3 separate regions of the Homo sapiens genome follow, and regions 2 and 3 are each linked to region 1. The links are contacts of gene promoters, found by promoter capture Hi-C in blood cells and fetal thymus (Javierre and others, 2016). All regions are on one chromosome and are shown on one strand. The core of a region is centred on a gene start or on the middle of the fragment in contact, and the rest is flanking DNA. Distances in the headings are between cores, read along the strand shown.

Region 1 (4,049 bases), core at 1,278-3,777:
GTAATCCCAGCACTTTGGGAGGCCAAGGCAGGTGGATCATGAGGTCAGGAGTTCAAGACCAGCCTGGCCAATATGGTGAAACCCCATCTTTACTAAAAAAAAAAAAAAAATACAAAAATTAGCAAGGCATGGTGGCGCACGCCTGTAGCCCCAGCTACTCAGGAGGCTGAGGCAGAAGAATCGCTTGAACCCAGGAGGCGGAAGTTGGAGTGAGCAGAGATCGTACCTCTGCACTCCAGCCTGGGCAACAGAGTGAGACTTTGTCTCAAAAAAAAAAAAAAAAGAAAGAAAGAAAAAGTGTGTGGTATTTTTGTTCTGTGTCAATGTAGCTAAGCTGGAACTACATTCCCCTGAATTATCTTCTCCTCTTTATCATCAATGAATGAGCATTAGCTCTACCTCCTTCTTCCAGTATGTCCCAGCTACAATCCTGATTTGAGACATTACTGTGCTTGACCATCACTGTGCTTGGGCACTGTGACGACCATTCCCTAGATTCACAGGCCCCAAGCTCAGCTCTCTCCTGGAGGGACGGAACAAATGGCTGGGCCACAGCCAGCTCCGAGGGAAGTCCCTTGTCCCTGACATCCTTCTCCAACACCTCAGATCCAAGTTATTTCCTATCCAAGAACACAGAGAGAACCAAAGGGAATCCTGTGACTGTCTCTCTGAATTTAGTTCACGTGGGGGCTGTGGGGCCAAAACATTGCTTCCTCTTAAAAAGTCTGACATAGAAACCATTTCTAGCTTCTTGATAGCCCAAGGCTTTCACAAGTGTCCCTTCTTTGTCACATATCACCAAAGCATGTCCTTCAGGTTTACTGTAAAAATATGAATGTCCACTTTCAAATACAGGTAAGAACTCTACATGCGACTTGGAGTGAAATAATTGCTTTAGTGTTACAGTTGTTTTAGAACTTGTCTATCAGGCTTCCCAATTTTTGCTGGAAAGCCCCTATATGTAAAATTTTTAAAAAATTAATTGCTTTATTTGTTGATATTTTGTCAACTAATTAAAGGATAGAAGTATATTTATTATTACAGCAGTAAAATATTATAATAATGATTGTAAACATGTTTTTAAGCACAAAGCAATTATTAAGATTTCTTATTGTAAAATAAAGTAAAAGATTAATAGTTAACACAAATATTAGGAAAAAACATTTTGGCTAGATAACTTTCAGAAGAGCATCATTTTCTTTTCTTGTTTTTTTTTTGTTTTTTTTTTTTTTGAGAGAGAGTCTCACCTTATTGCCCAGGCTGGAGTGCAGTGTCTAGTGTTGCCATCTTTATGCCCATGAGTACCCAATATTTAGCTCCCACTTAAAAATTAAGAACATGGGGTATTTGATTGTCTGTTCCTGCGTTAATTTTCTTAGGATAATGACCTCTATCTGCCTCCATGTTGCTGCAAAGGACATGATTTCATTCTTTTTTATGACTGCCCATCATAACTTTAAACAAATTAACTTTGTTATTTGTGTTTAATTTTAATTATTTAATTTCACAGAAGGCATGGCTTAATCAAGATCCATATCTTGCTCCTCCTCTAACCCCAATAATGAGCGAGCTTGGATTCGGTGCCCCAATGGACAATACAGTGACTATGGAAGCAATCTAGCCACTGACAGATCTGTGAAATTATTCCTACAGTCTTACAATGCAACATTTTTAAAGTTTAAATACCAAAATTTACAATAATAAAATTTGAATAGCAATCTCAACTTATTTTTGCATTCCAGAGATTTAGTCTATGATAGCGATTTCTATCTTTGGTCTTATCTTTTGTTGAATAGCTTTTTGGTTGTGTTTTGTTTTGTTTTTTAATATTTGGCCTTTTTGCATTGGGCCAACATGTATACTTGGTAGACCTTTAGTTTTATTCCATCTACTCATATCTTCTATTCTCACAATGCTGACTCTTTCATCCAGGATTTCAAATTCTCAAGTTCCAAGCCTGCAAATTTGCTTTTCTATTAGCTCTTAGATAAATCGCAGGACCCTACTGCATGGCTCCTAATCCAAACAAGCAAAAAAAAAAAAAAAAAATACACCAGAGGAAAGTTTTTCCCAAGAAATAACAATAGTACTATTGTATTTCTTTATGACTTTATCGGGACTTTCATAAACATTGTCTCCAATTCCTGATTCCCAGACCTCTGGACCTATAATTTCACCACAAGATAAGAAAAAGGAATTCACTTTGGCTGAACTGTTAAATATGTTTAAATAAGGATTTCTAAACATCACCCCCAGGTCTTTTTCTTCTGTATTTTCCTCTGGCCTTCTATTTATTTGATGTCTTTCAGTTAGGTATTACACCTCTTCGTTTAAATTACATTTATATTACCCCCGTTCATTTGAAAAGATAGCTTCATTTACAAAAGTAATGAATTTATTGTCTTACCTTCATGTTTGGGAAAACATTCAGGGCAGAAGAGAGGAGGAAGATTTCCTCTGTAAGGGCCGGGTAAGTTTTCAACAGCAGGAAGAGCCCAGCAGGCTGCCTGCCTCTCTGCCTCTCCCTGCTCTAGATTATCTTGGCACTCATATATAGAGCAAGTGGTCCTGAGATTTAGCTCCTACCCCAACCGGATTCTCCAACGACAGCAAGAGCCTGACCTTGTACTTAATCTGTGCCTTGAAACCAGATGCATCTTATCAATTACACAGCCTTAGCTACAGCCAGCTGGGACTGTTTGGAAGTTATAGATATGTTTCTTAGAAACATATCTATAAATCAGGAAACACAGCAAATGTTCTCAGTTCAATGTTTAAGTGATTTTCAACCAAAGGAGACTCTGTAAGGCAAGGGATGAGCCTCCTTCTTGTTTCAATCTACTAAACTAAGTGGATGTTTTCATGATTCTCTTAAAAGGTGTTATATGCCAGACTTTGAGATTAAATATTTTATGAAAGAAAATATTTAAATGCAGTTCTGTCACTCAAAATCTAAATAGAATGTTCTGGAGTAGAATTTTTCCCCAAAGTACAGCCTAATACAACCCAATAGTCATCCCTTCATGCTTAACTTTCACAGAATAATCAGAAAGAATATCAATTTTTGTAAACATATTTGAGGACATCACTAATTTTCTCAAGAACTTCACTTAATCCTTTGATAATCAGATCACTGTGTTGGAAAGTTCTTCTCAGGGTCATTATCCACATCCATTTTCTCTCCTTTGCTTTTTATCTTGTCTTATTCTACCAGGTCTTTATTTTCCCATAGCTTTGCATTGATTCTAGCAAGTCCCCAACATCACCTTCATACATTTAATAAAATGCTGCTTATTTTGCAAGATTTTAGATTTCCTATTGAAACTGAGCTACAGTTGGCCAGGCGCGGTGGCTCATGCCTGTAATCCCAGCACTTTGGGAGGCCAAGGCGAGCGGACCAAGAGGTCAGGAGTTCGAGACCAGCCTGGACAATACAGTGAAACCCCGTCTCTACTAAAAACACAAAAAAATTAGCCAGGCATGGTAGCATGCACTTGTAGTCCCAGCTACTCAGGAGGCTGAGAGAGAAGAATCACTTGAACCCAGGAGGCGGAGGTTGCAGTGAGCTGAGATCGCACCACTGCACTCCAGCCTGGGAGACAGAGTGAGATTCCATCTCAAAAAAAAAAAAAAAAAAAAAATTGAGCTACAGTTTTATTTGTATTGTTGGACCAAATATTCTAACACTAGCTGCTAGTGCATTATGAGTGAGGTAGAATAAATGTTAAGCGGGAAAGAAAATTTGAGTTAAGAATAATTTTATAAGTAAACATTCCATTAGTGAAGATTTTCTAGCTTTAATGACTTTTTCTTCCTATATCCAAAGCACTGGAATAATAAAGACAACCCCTATCCTCCCCTCATAAATTAATGGTGGTTTCCAGAGACAAAGCTTCCGCATCTTTTGTTCAAAGCTTTAGTGATTTGTGTGGAAGAAATTTTGTCACAGAGACAAAGATCCTGACTCCTGAAAGAAATATTTTTTATTCAGCTCCAACTGCATAAATTCCAGATGCCATAGACTCATCTTAAATTCTCAATATACAATT
Region 2 (4,419 bases), core at 868-3,367, 1.2 Mb after region 1:
CTCAAAAACATTAACACAACATATAGCTAAAAAATTATGCTTTCATATCATTGTTGTCCTCTCCAACTCAACAAAAATGATGTGTGCATGTGTGTATTCCAGTGTGGTGAGGAAGAGGTCGTTACAAAACACTTATAAGTAAAACAGAAAGTATGCTCCTAATTTATGGCATTAACCAATCCCTGTATAAAACTATAACTCAATCACACATTGACCATGAGGTGTAGCTTATCTTGTACTGTACTTTTTTCTAAAAAAAGTATACCTTATCAGTACTTTTTAAAAAGTAAAATCCAAGATAAACTACATTTAATGGTACACTTTAAATGGGTGTAAGTGTATGCTATGTGAGTTACATTCCAATAAAACTCTTAGTTTTAAATTGGAGATGAGTAACTAACATCTCAATGGAAGAGGGACAAGTGATATAAGGACAATCTTATGCAAGAACTCTTTAAAGCATACAAAATGAGGATGTGATGTAAAAGAAACCATGCTTATATAATTACACTCACCCCCCACACACACACAAACACACAAACAATAAGAACATCACATCATTCATGGTTTCCTACAATTCTAAAACTATGTGGTATTCTTCGACATTAAAAAGAGGCAGTTAACGTTTTACTTCTTCCTTCTATGTAGCAACTTACATATTGGTATAAATATATATCTGCTATTCTTTAACTGGACAAATGGGTATCTGAAACAATAGTAACGATTTGGAAATGTTAGAGCTACATGTGACCTAAAGGCCCATTTAGTCTGGTACTAATTCTACAGACAGTATTAGAATCCCAGAGAGCTAAAGACATTGTCCAGAGAACTTGTGAAACACAGAGTGGAACCAGTCACCAATTCCCTTACTTAATGGTAGAGCACCATACCCCAATGCCCTGGCACCATGCCTTGTGAAACTACTTGAACTTGGAAAAGTGTGAGGTAAGCAAAAGCTTATAAATTATGACTATTTGAAAGTAAAGATGGAAACGATCCAAAGAAGCAAAGTTCTGGGCATATAAGAAAAATTAAAGAAAAATAAACTATAGAAAATTTCAAGATAAACTCTGGAATGATAATCAAAAGGAGAGTTTTTAATTGAGTAAGATACCAAAGTTGTCCACTGAAACACAGCAGCACCACTAAGGGCCTCTGGCAGCAATGAGAGAAGCACGCCTCAGACAGACTCTCATCTTGAATCACGAAGACTGAGTCAAGCAGGCCAAGCTGTTCAGTGGGGAAGAGAAATGATGAATGATTAGATAGATTCATCACCAAGGTCCTCTGTAGACAGCCTCAGAGTGTGTTCACTCTTCAAATGGAAATAATACATTACATAGAACTCCCACATAAAAGGACATACAATATGTAACAAAGAAAAATAATGAATAATAAGTGAAATCATAATAATGAGATCTACTTTATTGGTGCTGTGTATATTACTGCGTAAGTCCAAACTCAATATCCAGGACTGTCACTGGAATATAATTTCTCATGTTTAAAAAAAAAAAAAGGTCAAACAACTTTTCAATAATTTATCTCACATGTTTAGAATATTGTATGAATTACTTTCTATAATTTATTCAAGTTTAAGTAAACTGGAAAATATGATCTTTTCAAGGTTCTCATATTAATGAAACATCTGCAAAGAAACAGCCCTTTCTGCACATCTGGCAAAGGTAAAATTCATGCTCTGTCTAGTCTGTCAAAACTGAGTGAAATTGCCCAACATTCGCAGGGCCTGGAGCAAGAGTACAAATGGAAGCCCATGGACCATATGTCTGTCTGTAACAGCATGAATCAAATGAAAACTATTTAATAAAAGATACCCCACACTCCTACATTGCTAACTGCACCTTCAAAACACTAAAATGTAAAATATTTAACTAAAAGTCAATGAAATATCAAAGATAATGTATTAAATTATTGTAGAACATACATCACCCTGCAGACGTATCGGTAGTGTTTAGAAGAGTTATAAAAATATATATAAAATTCAGAAGTTAGGTCTGAATTGTGTAGAATTACACAATAAAATTTACTTTTATTGCTTTAATTTTAGCACAATAGCTAATTATAGTATTGTAGTTAATGTTTTCATAATTTTAATTGTCACAATAACAACATAAAGGATTAAAAATAACATGTAAATATATTCATTATAACAAATTTAAGTATAGTTTCATCAGAAATGTAAACTAAAGTGAAAATAAAAACAAAGTAGTAAAATCATTTAATATACTTGTTAAAACTTAATTTTTCTAAAATATTGAAAATTATATCAATGTTTACAGGAAAATATATTTGTAGAATATCAAATCTGAAATAAATAACTTTAAAATTAGCTGTGTTTTATTTAATTTGGAAAATTTAACTATGCTTATTTTATCCTTTTATAAACATACTCCCAATTTTGCAAATCAGCAATAGGAAAGTGTCAACACATTACACCACAGTGACCTGTCTTCTTAAACAATTGATTCAAAAACCTATAGAGTGCCATGGTGTAATTATGAACTTTAAATCTGACTAAATGAAACAAGTAACATGAGATTCTTTTTACCCTAAATACTTGAGGGAAAAACCCAAAATATGATTTTTAAATTAGTTATATTCTCACATTAAGACCTCTAGTTGATAGTGACTTTTCTAAAATCAGGGGTTATAATCATGTCCCCTGCTTTCTGGGTCATACTGTTTTTAACCTTACCTTATAGGAAGTCCGACCAATTCCATTTACACTGTTTTGCAGCCACTGAAAGTTTGTAAGGAACAAACCAAAAATTTCAGTGATCATTGTGTTCACTGTTATATCAATTCCTAAATCCTAAACTGTTTTTAACCTTACCTTACAGGAAGTCTGACCAATTCAATTCACACTGTTTTGCAGCCACTGAAAGTTTGTGAAGAACAAACCAAAAATTACAGTCAAGATTGCGTTCACTGTTATATCAATTCCTAAGTCCCAGGGTCCCAGAGAATAATCGATAATTAAAATATTTTTAAAATACCACAGAAGTACTTATATCAAAAAATAAGTAATTTTTTTTTTTTAGTTGTGACGGATGAAACCAACATACCATTATTTATACTTCTAAATGCTTTCAAAGGAAGAGTCTTCCAAATAGCAAGTGTAATTGTGGTCTGGATGAGCAGGGAGAAGGCAGGAAAGAGGGCTGCCTGGATGAAAACTGGAAACACATTTTCACAATGCAGCACATCCTGGATAGTCTCACAGATCAACTTACTCATGAGCCTAATCAAAACTAAGCTTTGAACTCACAAACTAGTATTTGTTCACTAAAAGCAATTCAATATTTTTCTCAATATCATACCTGAGTGACATAAACAAATTGATTCTCAGTGGAGTAAGAGATTGGCTCTCGAGTTTTGTATTATAGTGTTAAGACAGAACAAGGCCCTGGGAATCTTGTCTTGCAAGGCTGGTAGTGCTGATAATGGTTGAGAAATGTTGCCCTTCCACACTGATCTCTACTTTTCTTTGTTCTTTTCCAATCTTCTTTAATGTACCCTCCTCCCCTTCTTTCCCTATCGTCCTGTCAAGTTTTCTATGTTCTCAATTTCAGTTTGGCAGCATGTTTGCGTCAGAGTGGTTGCAAATGATGGAGGACTCTGTGGAGCCCGTGGGACATCAGCCCGCTGGCCGGGTTCCCTAGAGCGCTGCTCCACTGTCGCCAGGTCTCAGGGCTGGTAAGTATGTGTACAGACACGCCTGCATGCGTAGCCGCGACTGAATCACGGGTTCGTCATGAGTTCTTTTGCATGATATCAGTAACCACCAAAATCTCACCGCAGTTTCCCCAAGGCTGAATTTATTCATTTCAAAAAACAGCATCGGGAATATTCTAAGACTTTTACTACACAGAGGAACTGGTGAGGCAGTAAAATCGTTTTATTTGAAATAACAATAAAAAGCCAAATTGGAGTGCAGCTAGAAGGGATTAGACCACCACAAAACTAGCCTTACTGGAATTGCTTCCAAGAATGTTAACAATCTATTGGGAGACAGTATGTTTTCTGGAACCAAAATTGAAGGTGGGTGGGGAGAAGAATAGGCAAGTAAAGGCAGCCATGAGGAAACTGAACTTTCATCACCTTGAGCACGGTATTTTTGAGTATTAACTATGCTTGGCATGCAAAAAGCAGTTAAAAGTCTAACAACCAAGCGTGAACTTCACGCACCTAAATCTCCTGTGATAGTTCTAGACAATACTTGGCAATCCGCTTTGTAAATGGGTTTTAAACAAGTACTCATAATGATGAAACAATATAGAGGAACAAATTGCGGTAAGAAAAGCATGCTGTTGATGTCAAAAGAAGCCAGCCCGTTACCGTAATTCCAGCAACACATTGACTGTGGTCCTGGCCACAGGCAAATTTCTGATACCTGCTTTT
Region 3 (4,336 bases), core at 871-3,370, 1.2 Mb after region 1:
AAACATAAATGACCTGGAGAATCAAATATGCAAGGGATCCCTAAAAGACGTCAGTGTATGTCTCCACTACTAAGAGGCAGACAGCAGAATCCTGTTGTAAACAATCATATCGGGGGAAAAGGACCACCTGCACCTACAACTCAAGCACAGCCAGATCTTATTAAGCTTCTTCCTCTTCATAAAATTTCAGAAACCACTAATGATTCGATAATACATGATGTGGTTGAAAATCATGTTGCAGACCAACTTTCGTCAGACATTACACCAAATGCTATGGATACTGAATTTTCAACATCTTCTCCAGCCAGTTTACTGGAAGGGCCAACCAATCATATGGAGGCTCCTGGTCATGACAATTTAGGAACGAATGACCTCACTGTTGGTGGATTTTTAGAAAATCATGAGGAGCCAAGAGATAAAGAACAATGTGCTGAAGAGAACATACCAGCATCTTCACTCAACAAAGGAAAGAAATTGATCCATTGCAGAAGCCATGAAGAGGTCAATATCGAACTAAAACCACAAATAATGAAAGAGATCTGAAAGCCAGGGAGAAAATATGAAAGAATCTTCACTTTACTGAAGCATGTGCAAGGCAGTTTACAAACAAGACTAATATTTTTACAAAATGTTATTAAAGAAGCATCAAGGTTTTAAAAACGAATGCTAATAGAACAACTGGAGAACTTCTTGGATGAAATTCATCGAAGAGCCAATCAGATCAACCATATTAATAGCAATTAAAAGAAAATAGAATGTGGCCACTTCACTATCTTCTTCAAATACAAAGTAAATACAAGACTGTTGTGATCTTGCATTCATTTTCTGACATGCATTGTCGGCTATTTGAAATACTAAAAGCAAATCTACAGATCATTTTCCGTCATTTTACAGTGACCTTTTCTTCATTTTGGTTTATTTTTGTAATGTGAAAAGTATCACTCTAAAAAACATTTTTATTTAACAAACTGAAAATATTCCTCCAAAGAAAAAAGAAAGAAAAATTCTTTTTGAAATATTATTGCTCATTGACAATGCACCTATTCACCCAAGAGCTCTGATAGACATGTACAAGGAGATTAGTGTTGTTTTCATGTCTGCTAACACAACATCCATTCTTCAGCCCACAGATCAAGGAGTAATTTCATCTTTCAAATTTCATTATTTAAGAAATACATTTGTAAGGCTATAGCTTCCATATATAGTGATTCTTCTGATAGATCTGGGCAAAGTAAATTCAAAACCTCTGGAAAGGATTCACCAGTCTAGATGCCATTAACATTTGTGATTCATGTGAAGAGGTGAAAATATCACTAACAGGAGTTTGGAAGAAGTTGATTCCAACCCTCATGGGTGACTCCGAGGAATTCAAGACTTCAGAGGAAGAAGTAACTGCAGAGGTAGGAGAAACAGCAAGAGATCTAGAATTCTAAGTGAAGCCTGAAGATGTGACAATTGCTACAAGCTCATGATCAAATTTGGAAAGATGAGAAGCTTCTTTTTATGGATAAGCCAAGAAAATGGTTTCTTGAGATGGAATCTATACCTGGTGAAGACGAGTTGAACATTGTTAAAATTACAAGAAAGGATTTAGAATGTGACATAAATTTATGTGTATATATATGTATAAATACACACATATATATGTATAATATAAACTTAATTGATCAAGCAGCAACAGGGTTAGAGAGGATTGACTCTAATTTTGGAAGAAGTTCTACTCTTGGAAAAATGCTACCAAACAGCATCGCATGCTACAGAGAAATCTTTTGTGAAAGGAAGAGTCAATCACTGTGGCAAACTTTATTGTTCTCTTATTTTAAGAAATTGCCACAGCCACCCCACCCTTTAGCAACCATCACTCTGATCAGTCAGCATCCATGAACCTCAAGGCAAGAACCTTCACCAGCAAAAAAATTACAACTCTCTCAAGGCTCAGATGATCATTAGCATTTTTTAGCAATAAAGTATTTTTTAAGGTTTCCACATTTTTTTACACATAATGCTATTGCATACTTACTAGACTACAGGATAGTGTAAACATAACTTTTATATGTACTGTGAAACCAAAACATTTGTGTGACTCACTTTATTGCAATATTCACTTTATTGTAGTGGTCTGGAACTGAACCTGAAATAACTCCTAGGTATGTATACATAAAACATAATTCTTAAAAAAGTTGTGTTTGTAAATATGTTGGAAGAAAATAATATTAAATATATTAAAAATGTAATGTATTTTTGGTGGTTAGATTATGACAAGTATTTTTTTGCAGTGTATATTCCATCTGCTACCATGAACTACATGTCTTTCGTGCCAGGGGAAAAATCATGCACTTAACACAAAAACCTTCAATTGCAAAATGTAGTCATTATTTTAACATTCCCTCTGCAGATGTTTTCTTTAAGAAAATAAGATGAACAAATCATTGCCAGCTGTTCAAATGATAAATACTCCGATCAAATAAGTATTGCTCTATTAAATTAATTAATGGGACCATTAGTCAAATTAATTTAACTATTAACTATCATAGTGTTAGACTATGCTTGTCTCTCTTCCCTTGTAAGTTTTGATTATGCAAATTTTAATAAAATTCACTGTAAAAGTATTTTGCCTTTGAAACTTTTTTAAAAAGTTACTATTGTAGCATATGCAACTGCCTTTAGCTAATATCCTCTTCCCACCTCCAAAATTTAATCATACTGTACCTCGAGCAGGAAGCCCTGAAGTCTGTAAATAAGCTTAGCAAAGGCCTGACATGTAAGCATACAAATGTTAGTTGCTTGTCATTCTGAATCTTTTGTGCCATTTGATTTTCTTTACATATGCAGCAACTTTCCCACCAAAAAGTAAACAAACAGAAACAGCTAGGCAAAAATAAATAGCTAGCTAGGTTAGCTAGCTACATTGATAGAGAGAGAGCAAACAAATTATCTAATGATTGAACAGTCTTGCTGGCTCTTTGTTTACCCCTCCAGATCAGTCACCACATCCCTCCACTCAGTTCTGTGCTATGGGAGTCTGACCTTATAGATTGCATCAGCTGCACCCAGCGCCCTCTGGCTTCCAATTTAGTTTGTTTAATGGAAGGTACAGACTGGCTAGCAGAGGAAAGTTCCCTCCCTACTGGGCCTTAGGTGGCAGTTGCTGGGTTTCTCTTCCAATGGACTTCCAGGAGGTCTTGTCTTTCAGCTATCCTAGCCTAAGGGTAGTGCTGGCTCTTTGCTCCTACTATTTACACTTTCTTTGGCTGGTCCACATCCTTGTTGGCATTGACAGTCTCTAACTTCAGCTCTTGTGATAGACGTGTATCTGTATTTCACTGTACTTTAATTTGCAATTCTCTAATCAATTGTACCTAGCCATTTGCACATCCCTTTTGTTATCCTTATTGATCATTGGAATACACTCTCTTGTGAGGAGTCTTTGCCTGTTTTCTAAAAAAATCAATTGTCAGGTGAGGCGCGGTGGCTCACACCTGTAATCCCAGCACTTTGGGAGGCCAAGGTGGGTGGATAGCGAGGTGAAGAGATGGAGACCATCCTGGCCAACATGGTGAAACCCCGTCTCTACTAAAAATACAAAAATTAGCCGGGCGTGGTGGTGCGTGCCTGTAGTCCCAGCTACTCGGGAGGCTGAAGCAGGAGAATCGCTTGAACCCGGGAGGTGGAGGTGGCAGTGAGCCGAGAGCCTCAGGTTGGCGACAGAGTGAGACTCCATCTAAACCAAAAAAACAAAAAACAAAAAATCAATTGTCAGTCTTTTTATTATTATTGTTTTGTAGGAGCTCTTTATTCTGAATACAATTTATCAAATATGAGTCTATGCTTTGCTTTTTAACACTTAATGTTAAAATGTATTTGAATAAAAATAAATTCTTAATTTTAATGCAGTTCACTTATAATCTTTTTTGTATGGTGTGAGTTTTCACACTGTTCGAGAAATCTTTGTTTAAGAAGATCTTCATGAAACACCAACTATTTAAAGGTCTTAAAGATTTTCCCCTATTTTCTTCAGGAAGAATTATTGTTTTTCTTTTTATATTTAGGTATATGATATACCCCTAATTTTTGCCTATCCCATATATCGTAGGTCAAAGTACATATTTCCCATATAGATTTCCAGTTGACCTAGATCTTTCTAACTCGCAGAACTGCGACAATGCTTTTGTCACATATCATCTCATATATCATGTATGGAACTGTCTCTGGGCTCTATATTTTAGTTCATTGGTATGATTGTGCTTGTACTAATCTTACATTGTCTTAATTGCTGTGCTTTTGTAACAGGTCTTTACATCTGGTACTGTATAGCTTTCATTTGTTCTCTTTTGAG

Evidence for each region. Contacts are between HindIII fragments. The CHiCAGO score rates a contact against its expected background, and 5 or more counts as called.
Region 2: a fragment that was not itself captured here is called in contact with the fragment with the promoter of C7 in region 1 in 1 of 17 cell types (activated CD4 T cells); the score reaches 5.7 in activated CD4 T cells.
Region 3: a contact is called between a fragment that was not itself captured here and the fragment with the promoter of C7 in region 1, in 1 of 17 cell types (fetal thymus). The highest score is 5.2, in fetal thymus.

What each region holds. Positions count from the first base shown.
Region 1 is chr5:40,907,975-40,912,023 of GRCh38, reverse strand. It overlaps C7 (complement C7), which reads right to left and starts at 2,527. Exons shown (of 18, transcript NM_000587.4): 1 at 2,408-2,527. The coding sequence starts at 2,413. It also overlaps the pseudogene RNU7-161P. The HindIII fragment of the contact is 6,323 bases long and covers 1-3,894 here.
Region 2 is chr5:39,739,896-39,744,314 of GRCh38, reverse strand. No RefSeq gene overlaps it. Among named protein-coding and RNA genes, the nearest start is that of LINC02104, 220 kb to the right of the region's middle. RefSeq lists a silencer at 3,516-3,742. The HindIII fragment of the contact is 2,318 bases long and covers 959-3,276 here.
Region 3 is chr5:39,715,389-39,719,724 of GRCh38, reverse strand. It overlaps the pseudogene INTS6P1. Among named protein-coding and RNA genes, the nearest start is that of LINC02104, 200 kb to the right of the region's middle. The HindIII fragment of the contact is 1,248 bases long and covers 1,497-2,744 here.